Regions from separate parts of the Homo sapiens genome. Here regions 1 and 3 are each linked to region 2. The links are contacts of gene promoters, found by promoter capture Hi-C in human tissues and cell types (Jung and others, 2019). All regions are on one chromosome and are shown on one strand. Each heading gives the region's core, a stretch centred on a gene start or on the middle of the fragment in contact. The rest is flanking DNA. Distances are from core to core; before and after follow the strand shown. Region 1 holds the start of TMEM240 (transmembrane protein 240). Region 2 holds the start of DVL1 (dishevelled segment polarity protein 1). Region 3 has its middle 8.6 kb from the start of SSU72-AS1.

Region 1 (4,408 bases), core at 1,255-3,754, 190 kb before region 2:
TGCTGGGCTGTGACGAAAGGACCTGCCTGAGGAGAGCCCCACGCACCGTCCCGCCTCTGCCTCTGCCTCTGCCTCTGTGATTTGATGAATGTCTGTGAAAGACAGAAAAACAGAACAGCTTCACCAAGAAAGAAGATGGTGTGTTTGGAAAGCCCGGGAGCCAGGCGGGCGGGCGCTGGGAGAAGCTGCTGTGTGGCCGCAGAGGCTCCTGCGCTCCGCCTGGCCCACCCAGCATGGCTTCTGGTCCCCACGTGCCTCACGGTCCAGTGTGGCTGCTGAAGCGCCAGGGACGGTCTTCATGATCGCCTGGCAGGAGAAAAGGTCATAAGAAAATGTCGTCCCAGAAGTTATTGCACGATTTCTGCTTGGGTCACGTTGGCCAGAGCTGAGTCACAGACAGGCCGCTCCTTGCTTAGAGGCACTGGGTGCTGGCCAAGGCTGGGGACCAGGGGACAGTGGAGATGGCGAGTAACGAGCTGCCGGTGCCAGGGCAGGTGTGCCTAGGAGCCGGGCCTGCTCACTCTGGGGCAGCGGCCCTCTGCCAGGGGCTCTGGTGGATGGAGGCCAGGATGCTCCGATGACCAGGCTGCCCCCGCTCGCTTGTTGGTGGTGTGGAAGCGCTGGCGGTGAGGGTTGGTCGGCCCCGCTGTGCATGTGTGGGTCTGAGCCCTGGCCGCCAGGTCTCCGTGCTGGGCCCCTCTCAGAATCCAGCTCCAGGCTCCTCCCAGCTCCTCCCAGCTTCAGGTCCTGTGAGGGTCGGTGGGGAGGTGGGGGCTGCCCGGGACGCTCTCCCCCTGCAGCCTCCGGCCGTCCTTGTGAGGCAGCAGCGGTGGGGTGAGGGCCTGCCTGCTGCGCTGGTTTCTGCTGGCTCAGGCCTGGCGTTTCCCTGGCGATCCAGGTGTTAGGGGGAGCAGACAGGCAGGAGTGGGCAAGGCCCTCACCACGGTCCTGTCCTTGCAGATCCAGCACACGGAAGACATGGAGAACGAGATCGACGAGCTGCTGCAGGAGTTCGAGGAGAAGAGTGGCCGCACCTTTCTGCACACCGTCTGCTTCTACTGAGCCCAGCGCCCGCATGGAGCCGCCTCTGGAGCTTCCTGTTGTTCATACTTTTTCCTTCCTGACATTTGTTTTTACTTACAGGTGTTCTGCTGGTGACGGTAGCATTACCCAAATAAACTGTGCATATGAAATGGGAGAGGAGATGCCAAAACGCCAGATGAAAGCAATCAAGTTTCTTCTTTTCCACTTTTACTTATGAGCAGGATATTGATTACAAAGTTTTTCTTCTTTAACCAAAAAGGAAAGACAACGGTTTGTGTGCACTTCCCGACATACCTGTGTCTTCGTGTGCCTGCCTTCCCTCCCTCCTCCCCACCGGGCCGGACTGTACAGAGCCCTGCTGCGGCGTGTTAGGAATGACCTGGAATTGTCAATAAACAGATGCTGCTGTCATTGTGCCTGGTCCTGAATTCCTGGCCCGACCCTCGCCCCTGAGGAGGTGGCAGAGGCCTAGCCCTGCCGCCCTCAGTGACCTCCGACCACTGCTTGGGAGGAGTAGCTCAGACCTGGTGGTGCTGACAGGGTCTGGGCCTACCCGTGCCTGTGCTGCCTGAAGCGGAAGCCGCCTGCTCCTGCCACAACTGCTGCCTGTGGTGGAGCGGCGTCCCCTCTCCATGTGGAACCCCCCCGGGCGGGGATCCCCCAAGGCCAGCTACGGGGGAGGCTGAGCCGGGAGGATCGCCTGAGCCCAGGAGTGGAGGCTGCAGTGAGCCTGGATGGCGCCACGACCCAGGCTGGGTCCCAGGCATAGCTTCCCGCTGACTTCCTGCTGAGGCCGGGGGTCGGCTCCCGGGCCTGAGACATGGTCACCGGTCGTGGATGAGAGTTTGGCCTCAGGACCCCGAGCCAGGGACAGCCACAGCGGAGTGGTGGCCACTGGGCCTCTGAATGGCCGGCGTCCCGACCCATGGGCCTGGGCTGACCCCCTCGTCCCCGCCCTAAGGGAAGCCTGTGCGGGGCGGCCCTGCCCTCGGCTCCTGTGCCACATCCCTCCGTTGAGGATTCCAGGGGTCATCCCGTCCCTGACCTGTGGCCCCCACGGCCGTGGGGCTGTCGCGACCTTGCGGACCCCACCCTGGAGGCACGTGCGTGCCGAGCGGACTGGGGCAGTCCCGCACCCGGCGACCTGGGAGTCCAGGACGTAGGGCGGAGCAGTGGGGCGGGAAGGGCCTCGGCGCCCCTCCAGGACCGGAGGACTGGCGTCCAGGGTCACCGGACAGGCCACCGGGGCTGGGTCTGACCAGACTGGGGCGGGACGCGAAGCCGAGGCTCCCGGGGAGGGGTCCCGGCCGGCGTCCGGGGGATGGCGGTCTCCTCCCGGCGCTGGCACGGGGCGGCCTGCGGTCTGCGCGGTCCCTCCCGAGAGGCGGAGGAAGGCGGCGGGGAGGGAGGGGGGAGGAGGGAGGAGGAGGCAGGGAGGGGGCCGGAGCCGAGCGGAGCCGAGTCGAGCCGAGCCGAGCGCATCGCAGGGAGGACCCGAGGGCGGAGCGGAGCGCGGCGGGCCGGGCCGAGAGACCCCAGAAAGGCCCCGCGTCCCTCCCCGGCGCCCCCCCCCCCGCGCCTCCTCCCCCCGGCCGGTGCCGGGGTTGCAGCGAGCGGCGGCGGACGATCCAGGGAAGCGCTGACCTCTGCGGAGGCGGCGGGGGCTCAGCATCGGGCCGGGGCCGGGGGGGCGCCGGGGCCGGGGGGCGGCGCTCCGGCCCGGCCCGGCCCCGCCCGATGTCCATGAGCGCGAACACCATGATCTTCATGATTCTGGGGGCGTCGGTCGTGATGGTGAGCGGAGGGGCTTCCCGCGCGCGCCCCCTGCTCCCCGCCCGCGCGCGCCGCCTGGCCCACCTCCCGCGCCTTGTTTACCGCCCGTGCGGCCTGCGCTCCCCTCCCCGGCCTGCGCTCCCCTCCCCGGCCTGCGCTCCCCTCCCCGGCCTGCGCTCCCCCACCCCGGCCTCCGCTCCCCTCCCCAACCTGCGATCCCCACACTCCCTACGCTCCTCTCTCCGGCCTACGCTCCCCCCACCCCGGCCTGCGCTTCCCCCTCCCCGGCCCGCGGTCCCCTCCCGGGCCTGCGCTCCCCCCACCCCGGCCTGCGCTCCCCTCCCCAGCCTGCGATCCCCATACCCGCTGCGCTCCCCCTACCAAGGCCTACGCTCCCCTCACCCCGGCCTGCGCTCTCGCTCCCCGCTTGCGCTGCCCCGACCCCGGCCTGCGCTCCCCACCCCCAGCCCCGCTTCGTCCCGCCCGCTCCTTGGCGCTGACCGGTCATGAGCTCTTCCAGGCCATCGCGTGCTTGATGGACATGAACGCGCTGCTGGACCGATTCCACAACTACATCCTCCCGCACCTGCGGGGCGAGGACCGCGTCTGCCACTGCAACTGTGGCCGGTGAGTCCACAACCGGCGCCGGCTCGACACGCGTGAGCGCACATGTGTGGCGGGGCCCACTCGGGGCGCGGGGGAACCAGCCCCACGCAGGCCGCGAGCCGCCTTCCACCCTTGAGGGCTGCCAGGTGCGCAGGGGGAGGAGCTGTCTCAAGGTGGGCGGGGGTCTCCTGGGGGCGCATGGCTTTAGGACGCCGTTCCTAGAGGCCTCCAGGGTGATGGCGGAATGGGTCACGGGGCCTCCTGGTCCAGCCTGGAGGCCGGAAAGCCGCAGCCCAGTGTGATGTCCACAGTGGAGACCCAAGCCAGCCTCATCAGGGCTGGGGCAGGAAGCGCCTGCTGGCACAGGGCTGGGCCCTGCACTGAGTCCCTGGGCAGGGGAATGCAGGTCAAGGCGGGAAGGGCCTGCCTTGAGGGGCACTGGGCACCACCCCCGGGCTGGAGAGGAGCTGAGGGATGGGCTGGGGGGGCAGCGGGGAGGTGGAGCTTCCTCAAGGTCATTCAGATTGAGGGGAGCGCCCAGACCCCCCGCACCCACCGTGTGACCCCCTCTGTGCACGTGTAGCGATGGGATCCTCTTGGCCATGCATGTTTGTACGTCCATGTACGAAATAAACATCTTCTCATGAGACGCGCATGTGTGTGGCGTCTGTGCATATACATGTGCGTACACACAGCCCCCGCGCACGCACGCATGCACTTCCACCCCTCAGGACACCCTCACGCAGTGGCCGCTGTTAACCCTGCTGAACAGATGAGGAAGTGGACGGAGGATTTAGAGGACAGGCTTTTCCAAGGTCACACAGCTAGTGAAGGACAAAGGGGGCACCAGCCCAGAACCCGTGTTCGTCATCTCTGCTGCCTCCTGCTCCGGGGGTCTCTGTGCATACGTGTGGGTGTGGGGCATGTGTGTTCAGGACAGCTGCATGTGTTGCTAAGCGTGTGACATGCCTATGGGTGCAGCAGG
Region 2 (4,463 bases), core at 641-3,140:
CCTCACTCCCCCCGTCGCTCCTGCCCGGTCCAGGCCCCCTCCTCACTCCCCCCGTCGCTCCTGCCCCGTCCAGGCCCCCTCCTCACTCCCCCCGTCGCTCCTGCCCCGTCCAGGCCCCCTCCTCACTCCCCCCGTCGCTCCAGCCCCGTCCAGGCCCCCTCCTCACTCCCCCCGTCGCTCCTGCCCCGTCCAGGCCCCCTCCTCACTCCCCCCGTCGCTCCTGCCCCGTCCAGGCCCCCTCCTCACTCCCCCCGTCGCTCCTGCCCGGTCCAGGCCCCCTCCTCACTCCCCCCGTCGCTCCTGCCCGGTCCAGGCCCCCTCCTCACTCCCCCCGTCGCTCCTGCCCCGTCCAGGCCCCCTCCTCACTCCCCCCGTCGCTCCTGCCCCGTCCAGGCCCCCTCCTCACTCCCCCCGTCGCTCCTGCCCCGTCCAGGCCCCCTCCTCACTCCCCCCGTCGCTCCTGCCCCGTCCAGGCCCCCTCCTCACTCCCCCCGTCGCTCCTGCCCGGTCCAGGCCCCCTCCTCACTCCCCCCGTCGCTCCTGCCCCGTCCAGGCCCCCTCCTCACTCCCCCCGTCGCTCCTGCCCCGTCCAGGCCCCCTCCTCACTCCCCCCGTCGCTCCTGCCCCGTCCAGGCCCCCTCCTCACTCCCCCCGTCGCTCCTGCCCCGTCCAGGCCCCCTCCTCACTCCCCCCGTCGCTCCTGCCCCGTCCAGGCCCCCTCCTCACTCCCCCCGTCGCTCCTGCCCCGTCCAGGCCCCCTCCTCACTCCCCCCGTCGCTCCTGCCCCGTCCAGGCCCCCTCCTCACTCCCCCCGTCGCTCCTGCCCCGTCCAGGCCCCCTCCTCACTCCCCCCGTCGCTCCTGCCCGGTCCAGGCCCCCTCCTCACTCCCCCCGTCGCTCCTGCCCGGTCCAGGCCCCCTCCTCACTCCCCCCGTCGCTCCAGCCCCGTCCAGGCCCCCTCCTCACTCCCCCCGTCGCTCCTGCCCCGTCCAGGCCCCCTCCTCACTCCCCCCGTCGCTCCTGCCCCGTCCAGGCCCCCTCCTCACTCCCCCCGTCGCTCCTGCCCCGTCCAGGCCCCCTCCTCACTCCCCCCGTCGCTCCTGCCCCGTCCAGGCCCCCTCCTCACTCCCCCCGTCGCTCCTGCCCCGTCCAGGCCCCCTCCTCACTCCCCCCGTCGCTCCTGCCCCGTCCAGGCCCCCTCCTCACTCCCCCCGTCGCTCCTGCCCCGTCCAGGCCCCCTCCTCACTCCCCCCGTCGCTCCTGCCCCGTCCAGGCCCCCTCCTCACTCCCCCCGTCGCTCCTGCCCCGTCCAGGCCCCCTCCTCACTCCTCCCATCCTGGGCCGCCCTCTAGTGGCCTCCGCGCTTCCTGCTGGGGTCGGGTCGGGAAGGCCTCCAGCCCCGCGAGCCCCGGAACAGTAAGCGCGGACGCCCCGCGGCCTCAAGGGACGCCTCGGAAGTCTCCCCTGCCCTGCGGAGAACCCCAGGACTAAATCCCTCCCGCCGCCGGGCGCTCCGACGCCTCCGTGCACGCCCGCGCCCCCGCGCGCCCCGCATCCGCTCGGCCTGCTGCCTGGACCCCGTGGGACCCGGCAGAGGGCACGCGAGTCGGGAGCCTTCGCGGTGGCGCAGAGCGACCGGGCGCCACCTCAGCGCCGCGCACCCGGCGTCCCCGGGGTCCCTCCGCCCGACCCGAGCGCCCCGGCGCCCACGGGCCCACAGCCAGCGGCGCGCGTCGCATGCGCCGGATCATAATGGAGCGCGGGCCCGCGCGCGGGGGCGGGGCCGGGGCGGGGCGGGGCGAGCGATGATCGCCTGCGTCTGCGCATCCTCGCCCCGCCCCCGCCGTGCGCCCCCGTGACGTCAACGCCGCGCGCTCGGGCGCCCCCCCGCGGCCACGCTCAGGACCCCGGGCCGGGCGGTCCCTTTAACGGCGCGGCCCGAGGGGCGCAGGCGGGAGGGCGGCGGGGCTGAGCGCGCCCTCCGTGCTGCGTCCCTCGCGCCGCTCCCGGGCCGGGGGCGGATGGGCGGCCGCGGGCCGCGGGGCAGCAGTCGGGACGCGCGCGGGAGCCGGGGGCGGCGGCCGGGGCCTGGGCGGTCGGGCGGGGGCGCCCGGGGGCCTCGGAGCGTCGGGGCCGAGAGCGGTGCGGGCCGGGCGGGGCGCAGGCGGGCGGGCGGGTAGCGCCCCGCGTCCGAGCCCCGGGCCGGGCCCTGAGCGCGCGGGCTCCGCGCCGCCGCCGCGCCATGGCGGAGACCAAGATTATCTACCACATGGACGAGGAGGAGACGCCGTACCTGGTCAAGCTGCCCGTGGCCCCCGAGCGCGTCACGCTGGCCGACTTCAAGAACGTGCTCAGCAACCGGCCCGTGCACGCCTACAAATTCTTCTTTAAGTCCATGGACCAGGACTTCGGGTCAGTCGGCCGCGAGGCCTGCGCGAGCCTGGCGCGGGCTCGGGGGTCGCACCTGCCCGCGCGGGGACGGGGCGGGGGTCCTGAGCCGTTCGCGCCCCCGGGGACCTGCGACCGCGACGCGCCTCCGCTAGATGCGGCGCGGGTGGCGGCCTCGGCCCGTGTGCGGCGCGCGCCCACCTGTCCGTGGAGCGGGGCGATGGCAGGCGGGGTTCCCGGCGTCCCTGGCCCCAGCTTCCCGGCCCCGAGTCCTGCCTTGGCCCGTGTCAGACTCGGTCGGCCGCATCGCTTCCACCGGGGCTGGCCGGGAGCGCCTGCCGTTGGTGCGGGCTGGGGTCAGGGGCGTGTCAGTGGGAAGGAAGCAGGGTGGGGTTCCCTAGCTGGGATGGGGAGACATGGGGGTACAGGTTCACCAACCTGTCTGCTAGGGTTTGCAGAAGCTTCCCGAGGGTCAAGACAGGTTCTCCTGGCCCCCTTCTGCAGGGTCCTTGTGACAGGGTGGAGGTCAAGGGCCACTGGTGACCATGAAACTTTATTCGCCTACCCGTGTCCTGAGCTTCCTGTGGGCCCCGTCCCCACTGAGCCACAAAGCACTTGCGTTCCCGGAGCAGCCCAGACCATCTGCTGTTTCGGGGCAGCCTGGGTCAGCGTCTCCCTGCTGGGCCTCGGTGGTGGTGTCCCAGGCGAGGAGACCCCTGCTGTGCTGAGCTGGGCCCTCTGGGACAGGGAGCAGGAGCCTGGCGGTCTGCTTGAGGCCTGGCCTGGCCCGGCCCAGCCACCAGTAACCTGAGTCCCTAGTCCCAGCTCAACAGTGCTGGGGGCGGGCTCAGGCCTCGTGGCCCCAGGAGGTGAGCCTCCGGCAAGCGGTGTCCTTGTGTGTGGCCGCTTCTTGGGATTGTGACATTAAGGTTGTTTCTTGGATTCTGTGGTTGCAGGGTCCTCAGGCAGCCCCAGGTCCAGTCAGGCTGGGTCCGCTCTGGAGCTCTCAGGGGGGCCCAAGGGACATCTAGACAGCTGTACTTTCCTTCCCCACCCCCACGACCAGGCAAAGCAGAGAGGGCAGGGTGCGTCCTTGGCAGCCTTTGAAGGCTGGGCGCTCCCCACTCGGCTCAGCGGCCCTCCTGCCCGCTCCGGTCAGGTTGGGCAGGAGGGGGCGGTTTGTTTTCTGAGTCTGGTCCGGGCTCCTCCCCAGCTGGGGCACCTTGCAGTCCCTGCTTCTCTGGGCCTGGGCTGCTTTGGCCTTGAGCATGGGGCATGTGTCAGGTACTTTTGTTTTTGACTTAGTTTATTATTCTAACGAAAGTTACCAAAGTTACTAATGCTGTTTGTTGCAAATGTGTGCCACCAGGAAATGCGTAGTGAGGAGGTGCCCAGCCCCCAGGTTCTGCTCCTGGACCATGCTCTGGGATGAAGCCCTGGGGGAGTCCGCCTTCTGCTCCTGACACCCACCGGGGGCTGCCCAGGGCAGAGACAGCCTGACTGTTGCCCTAGTGCACTTCTAGCAGTGGCTGCACCTGCTGGGCACATTTGGAGGACGCGTGGGTGCCCGGGCCTGGGAACAGGGTGGGCAGGTCTGGGTGTCGAGGCAGGCTTGGGGATGCGGCCAGGAAAGAGACAGGGGAGCTTCAGTGTACAGCTTTGGAGGCTGCAGACTTACAGGGGGCTGGGAGTCAGTGGGGCTGCAGAGGTCAGGGCTGGGCTGGGCTGGGCTGTGGGGGTTGGAAAGAATGGACTGGGGTGATGCTGGAGGTCCAAGACGAGGGCCTTGCTCTGTAGCCTCCCAGGTCCTCTGGCTGGGATGGGGGCCTTGCTCTGTGTCCTCCCTGGTCCTCTGGCTGGTGGCCTCAGGAGCCTACGGAGGACCCTCATCAATTACTTCCTTCATCCCTTCCCCTGAGTTCTACCCGCAGACCTCTCAGCACTGTCTGTTCTGTGGAATAGAACCCCCGTGGGAGGGGCTGGTTGGTCAGTAATACTTTAGCTTAAGCGACTGCTGAACTAGACACTGACCCTGGATGCCAAGCGAATGTAGTTGGAGATGGGGGGAAGAGAAG
Region 3 (4,501 bases), core at 175-2,674, 230 kb before region 2:
ATTTTTGTTTGCTTGTTTGTTTTTAAAAAAAGAGTCTTGGCTGGGCGCGGTATCTCACACCTGTAATGCCAGCACTTTGGGAGGCCGAGGCAGGTGGATCACGAGGTCAGAAGTTCGAGACCATCCTGGCTAACACGGTGAAACCCTGTCTCTACTAAAAATACAAAAAATTAGCCGGGCGTGGTGGCGGGTGCCTGTAGTCCCAGCTATTTGGGAGGCTGAGGCAGGAGAATGGCGTGAACCTGGGAGGCAGAGCTTGCAGTGAGCTGAGATTGCGCCATTGCACTCCAGCCTGGGCGACACAGCGAGACTCCATCTCAAAAAAAAAATTAGCCAGGCGTGGTGGCGGGCACTTGTAGTCCCAGCTACTTGGGAGGCTGAGGCAGAAGAATGGCATGAACCCGGGAGGTGAAGCTTGCAGTGAGCCGAGATTGCACCACTGCACTCCAGCCTGGGCAATAGAGCAAGACTCCGTCTCAAAACAAACAAACAAACAAATAAACAAACAAAAAAAGTTAGCTGGACATGGTGGCATGCACCTGTAATCCCAGCTAGTCTAGAGGCTGAGGCAGGAGAATCGCTTGAACTCACAAGGCAGAGGTTGCAGTGAGCCAAGATTGCACCGCTGCACTCCAGCCTGGACTGCAGAGTGAGATTCTGTTTCAAAAGAAAACAAAACAACAACGAAAGTTACTGGGTCTGTCGCCACCATCTGAAACAGTGGTCCATGTGCTTGACAATTCCTGATAGGATCTATGGAAGCTTCTTTGCTCTTCAGAAAATAAGAAGAAATGAAATGGGATTCTCAAACATTAAGTCACAGCAGATTTTTTGGTTCTCCAGCAGGCTATATTATGGCCCAACTTGGGCAAACTGTACTTATTTATCTTTCTTTTTAATTTTTCTCAGCTTCTGTTCTGCTCTAACTCAGGCACATTTTAAAACTGATGGGTGGCCAGGCACGGTGGCTCACGCCTGTAATCCCAACACTTTGGGAGGCTAAAGTGGGAGGATCACGAGGTCAGGAGTTCGAGACCAGCCTGGCCAACATGGTGAAACCCCGTCTCTACTAAAAATACAAAAAATTAGCCAGGCGTGGTGGCACACGCCTGTAATTGCAACTACTCAGGAGGCTGAGGCAAGAAAATTGCTTGAACCCGGGACGCAGAGGTTGCACTGAGCCAAGATCATGCCACTGCACTCCAGCCTGGTCGACACAGCAAGGCGCTGTCTCAAAAACAAAAACAAAAACAAAAAAACCCCAAAACTGGCCGGGCACGGTGGCTCACGCCTGTAATCCTGGCACTTTGGGAGGCTGAGGTGGGTGGATCACAAGGTCAGGAGACTGAGACCATCCTGGCTAATCGGTGAAATCCCGTCTCTACTAAAAATACAAAAAATTAGCCGGGTGTGGTGGTGGGTGCCTGTAGTCCCAGTTACTCGGGAGGCTGAGGCAGGAGAATGGTGTGAACCTGGGAGATGGAGCTTGCAGTAAGCTGAGATTGCGCCACTGCACTCCAGCCTGGGCCACAGCGAGACTCCGTCTCAAAAAAAAAAAAAAAAAATTAATTGGCGGGCGCGGTGGCTCACGCCTGTAATCCCAGCACTTTGGGAGGCCGAGGCGGGCGGATCATCTGAGGTCTGGAGTCTGAGACCAGCCTGACCAACATGGAGAAACCCCATCTCTACTAAAAATACAAAATTAATGGCGCATGCCTGTAATCCCAGCTACTCGGGAGGCTGAAGCAGAAGAATTGCTTGAACCCGGGAGACAGAGGTTGTGGTGAGCTGAGATCATGCCATTGCACTCCAGCCTGGGCAACAAGAGCAAAACTCCATCTCAAAAAAAAAAAAAAAATTTTTATGCTTTGGGGCAGTGGCAGTGGTAACGGGGCTGTGTGCAGGAGGAGCATCGATCGGGCAGGGTGGATGTGGGCTGGGGCAGCCCCGGGTCCCAGGCCCTGCAACGGTGTGCAGGGCGGGAGTGCCCAGTCGGGCTGCATTCCCAGGTGCACGGCGTGCCACTGAGCTGCTCACGTAGCTGCCACCATCTGTGCTGGGCCCAGCCGAGACGCAGAACCTCGTGGACATGACCTAGGAAGACCCAGACAGTGTGCCCCACGGATGTCCTGGATCAAAGGGACCCAGGTTGGTGATTACTTCTACTCCTTTGGCGGCTGTTATTGGCACGCAGCCTACCGGTAGCTGCAGCAAGGGCCATCCTGGACAAGCTTGTGCAGTCCACCCTCTCGGACCTCAGGGTGTACCTGGGGGCATCCACGCCAGACTTGTAGGAGCAGTCCCCATGGCACCGACTGACACTTCTAAGAGCCCAGAAGATACATCTGGCCCCCGTAGGCTGGGCTGGCAGAAGGGATAGCTGAGATGCGTTCTCTTTGCACTTGGTGGGGAGGGTCTGACTCGAGACACTTCCCCAACAGTAGGGAATAAAATTGTCATGGTTGAATAGACCGATTGTGGATTGTGTTCCATCTACTGAGACTGGCACACTGCCTCCTGAAATGAAAGTGGATCTCATCACCAGAGGAGAAATGAGGAACTGCGTATCAGCTAGCCTTCACTGTGTAACAGACCATCCCAAAATTTGGCAGCAAAAACAGGTCACGTATTTGTCCACAATTCTGTGGGTTGGCAATCTGCACTGGGCTCACCTGCGGACCCTCATGGAGCTGTGGTCATTTGTCACATCCGCTACACCTGGATGGTCTAGGACAGCCTGACTCACTTGTCTGGCAGGTGACAGGTTGTTGGTTGGGGTGGCCTGTCTAGCAGGCTGCTTCAGCCTTAGGGCTCCAGGAGAGTGAGAGTAGAAGCTGCAAGATTTCTTGGGTTCTGGGCCTGGAACTGGGGCTGGGACAACGTCAGTTCTACTAAGTTCTTTTGATCAGAGCAAATCACAAGGCTTTGCCCGGATTCAAGGGATGAGAAAGAGACCGTATGTCTTGATGAGAGGAACCACAAAGAATGTGTGGCCATTTTTCACCTAATGCAAATAACTTTGGGTGGGGAAATAACAATATTTATCTCTCTCAGGGGACCTCACTCTGCCTAGTCTGAAGGCAAAAAGACACTGTCCTGGCCGTCAGGGTCTTGGGGAAGAGGTGTTGAGGCAGGGTGAGGCCTCTTCAAGGCTGGATCCACTATAATAGGGGCACCATGTTTTCTGCACTGGTGGGATGGGGTTTTACTGGGTGGGATGTTCCAGAGGGGCTTCTGAAAGCCAAGAGTCCTGGGGGAAAGGGAGAGGTGGAGAAACATGTGAATACATAACCCCAAATCATTTGAAATGGGAAAAATGGTAAAATGAGGTTTTTTAAAATAATAAACCTCCTATACAAACTGCGATCCCCCAAATTTTGGTCTGTATCCTTCATTAGATCACCTATTTGGGCAAATAAAGTTTAGCCATGTGAACATGTCCCATTTTGTCAGAAATACTATCATATAATTGGGATCCAATTGTCTGTTTTTTGTTGTTGTTGTTTTGAGATGAAGTCCCGCTCTGTCACCCAGGCTGGAGTACAGTGGCGCGATCTTGGCTCACTGCAACCTCCGACTCCCAGGTTCAAGTGATTTTCAGCCTCCTGAGTAGCTGGGATCACAGGCATGTGCCACCACTACACCCGGCTAATTTTTGTGTTTTTAGTAGCCATAGGGTTTCACTGTGTTAGCCAGGATGGTCTCCTGATCGTGATCCGGTCGCCTCGGCCTCCCAAAGTGCTGGGATTATAGGTGTGAGCCACCACGCCCGGCCCCCAGGCTGTAAATCTTTAATAAATAAGCTGGTTTTAAATTTGCTGTAAAATAAAAATAGAAATGTCATAAAAATTGGCAGCATACATTTTTGCCTGGGTTTACTCATTAAGAGTCTCACCTGTCGCCCAGGCTGGAGTGCAGTGGCTTGATCTTAGCTTACTGCAACCTCTGTTTCCTGGGTTCAAGTGATTCTCCCACCTCAGCCTCCCAAGTGGCTGGGATTACAGATGCCCGCCTCCACGCCCAGCTAATTTTTGTATTTTTAGTAGAGACGGGGTTTTGCCATGTTGGCCAGGCTGGTCTTGAACTCCTGACTTTAGGTGATCTGCCTGCCTTGGCCTCCCAAAGTGCTGGGATTACAGGTGTGATCCACCATGACTGGTCTTAGAATGATCTCTTTTGTGTGTAATTATTTGATGAGTAAAACTAATTTGATATTGTTGGCTTAATGAAAAAGCTGTATCTTCTGAGTTATTTACAACATATAGGTGCATTTAAAATTCTTATTTAGGCTAGGCATGGTGGCTCACACCTGTAATCCCAACACCTTGGGAGGCTGAGGTGGGAGGATCACTTGAGCCCAGGAGTTCAAGATGAGCCCTGGAAACACAGCAAGACCTTGTCTCTAATGAAAATAAAAAACTAGCCAGGTAGAATGCTGCACGGCTGTATTCCCAGCTACTGGAGAGGATGAGGTGAGTGGATCACTTGAGCTTGGGAGTTT

Evidence for each region. Contacts are between HindIII fragments. The study calls those that stand out against the background at their distance.
Region 1: a contact is called between the fragment with the promoter of TMEM240 here and the fragment with the promoter of DVL1 in region 2, in 3 of the 25 tissues and cell types used here (heart left ventricle, lymphoblastoid cells and mesendoderm cells).
Region 3: a contact is called between a fragment that was not itself captured here and the fragment with the promoter of DVL1 in region 2, in 1 of the 25 tissues and cell types used here (stomach).

The regions. Positions count from the first base shown.
Region 1 is chr1:1,538,720-1,543,127 of GRCh38, reverse strand. It overlaps TMEM240 (transmembrane protein 240), which reads left to right and starts at 2,504. Exons shown (of 4, transcript NM_001114748.2): 1 at 2,504-2,838; 2 at 3,338-3,444. The coding sequence starts at 2,782. SSU72 (SSU72 homolog, RNA polymerase II CTD phosphatase) reads left to right here. Exons shown (of 5, transcript NM_014188.3): 5 at 961-1,455. The coding sequence ends at 1,062. RefSeq lists a silencer at 3,625-3,919. The HindIII fragment of the contact is 20,414 bases long and covers 1-4,408 here.
Region 2 is chr1:1,346,845-1,351,307 of GRCh38, reverse strand. It overlaps DVL1 (dishevelled segment polarity protein 1), which reads left to right and starts at 1,890. Exons shown (of 15, transcript NM_001330311.2): 1 at 1,890-2,412. The coding sequence starts at 2,243. RefSeq lists silencers at 1,269-1,418, 1,439-1,758, 1,859-2,038, 3,199-3,375 and enhancers at 2,928-3,557, 3,558-4,187, 4,389-4,463. The HindIII fragment of the contact is 25,707 bases long and covers 1-4,463 here.
Region 3 is chr1:1,581,300-1,585,800 of GRCh38, reverse strand. No RefSeq gene overlaps it. Among named protein-coding and RNA genes, the nearest start is that of SSU72-AS1, 8.6 kb to the right of the region's middle. The HindIII fragment of the contact is 3,924 bases long and covers 1-3,386 here.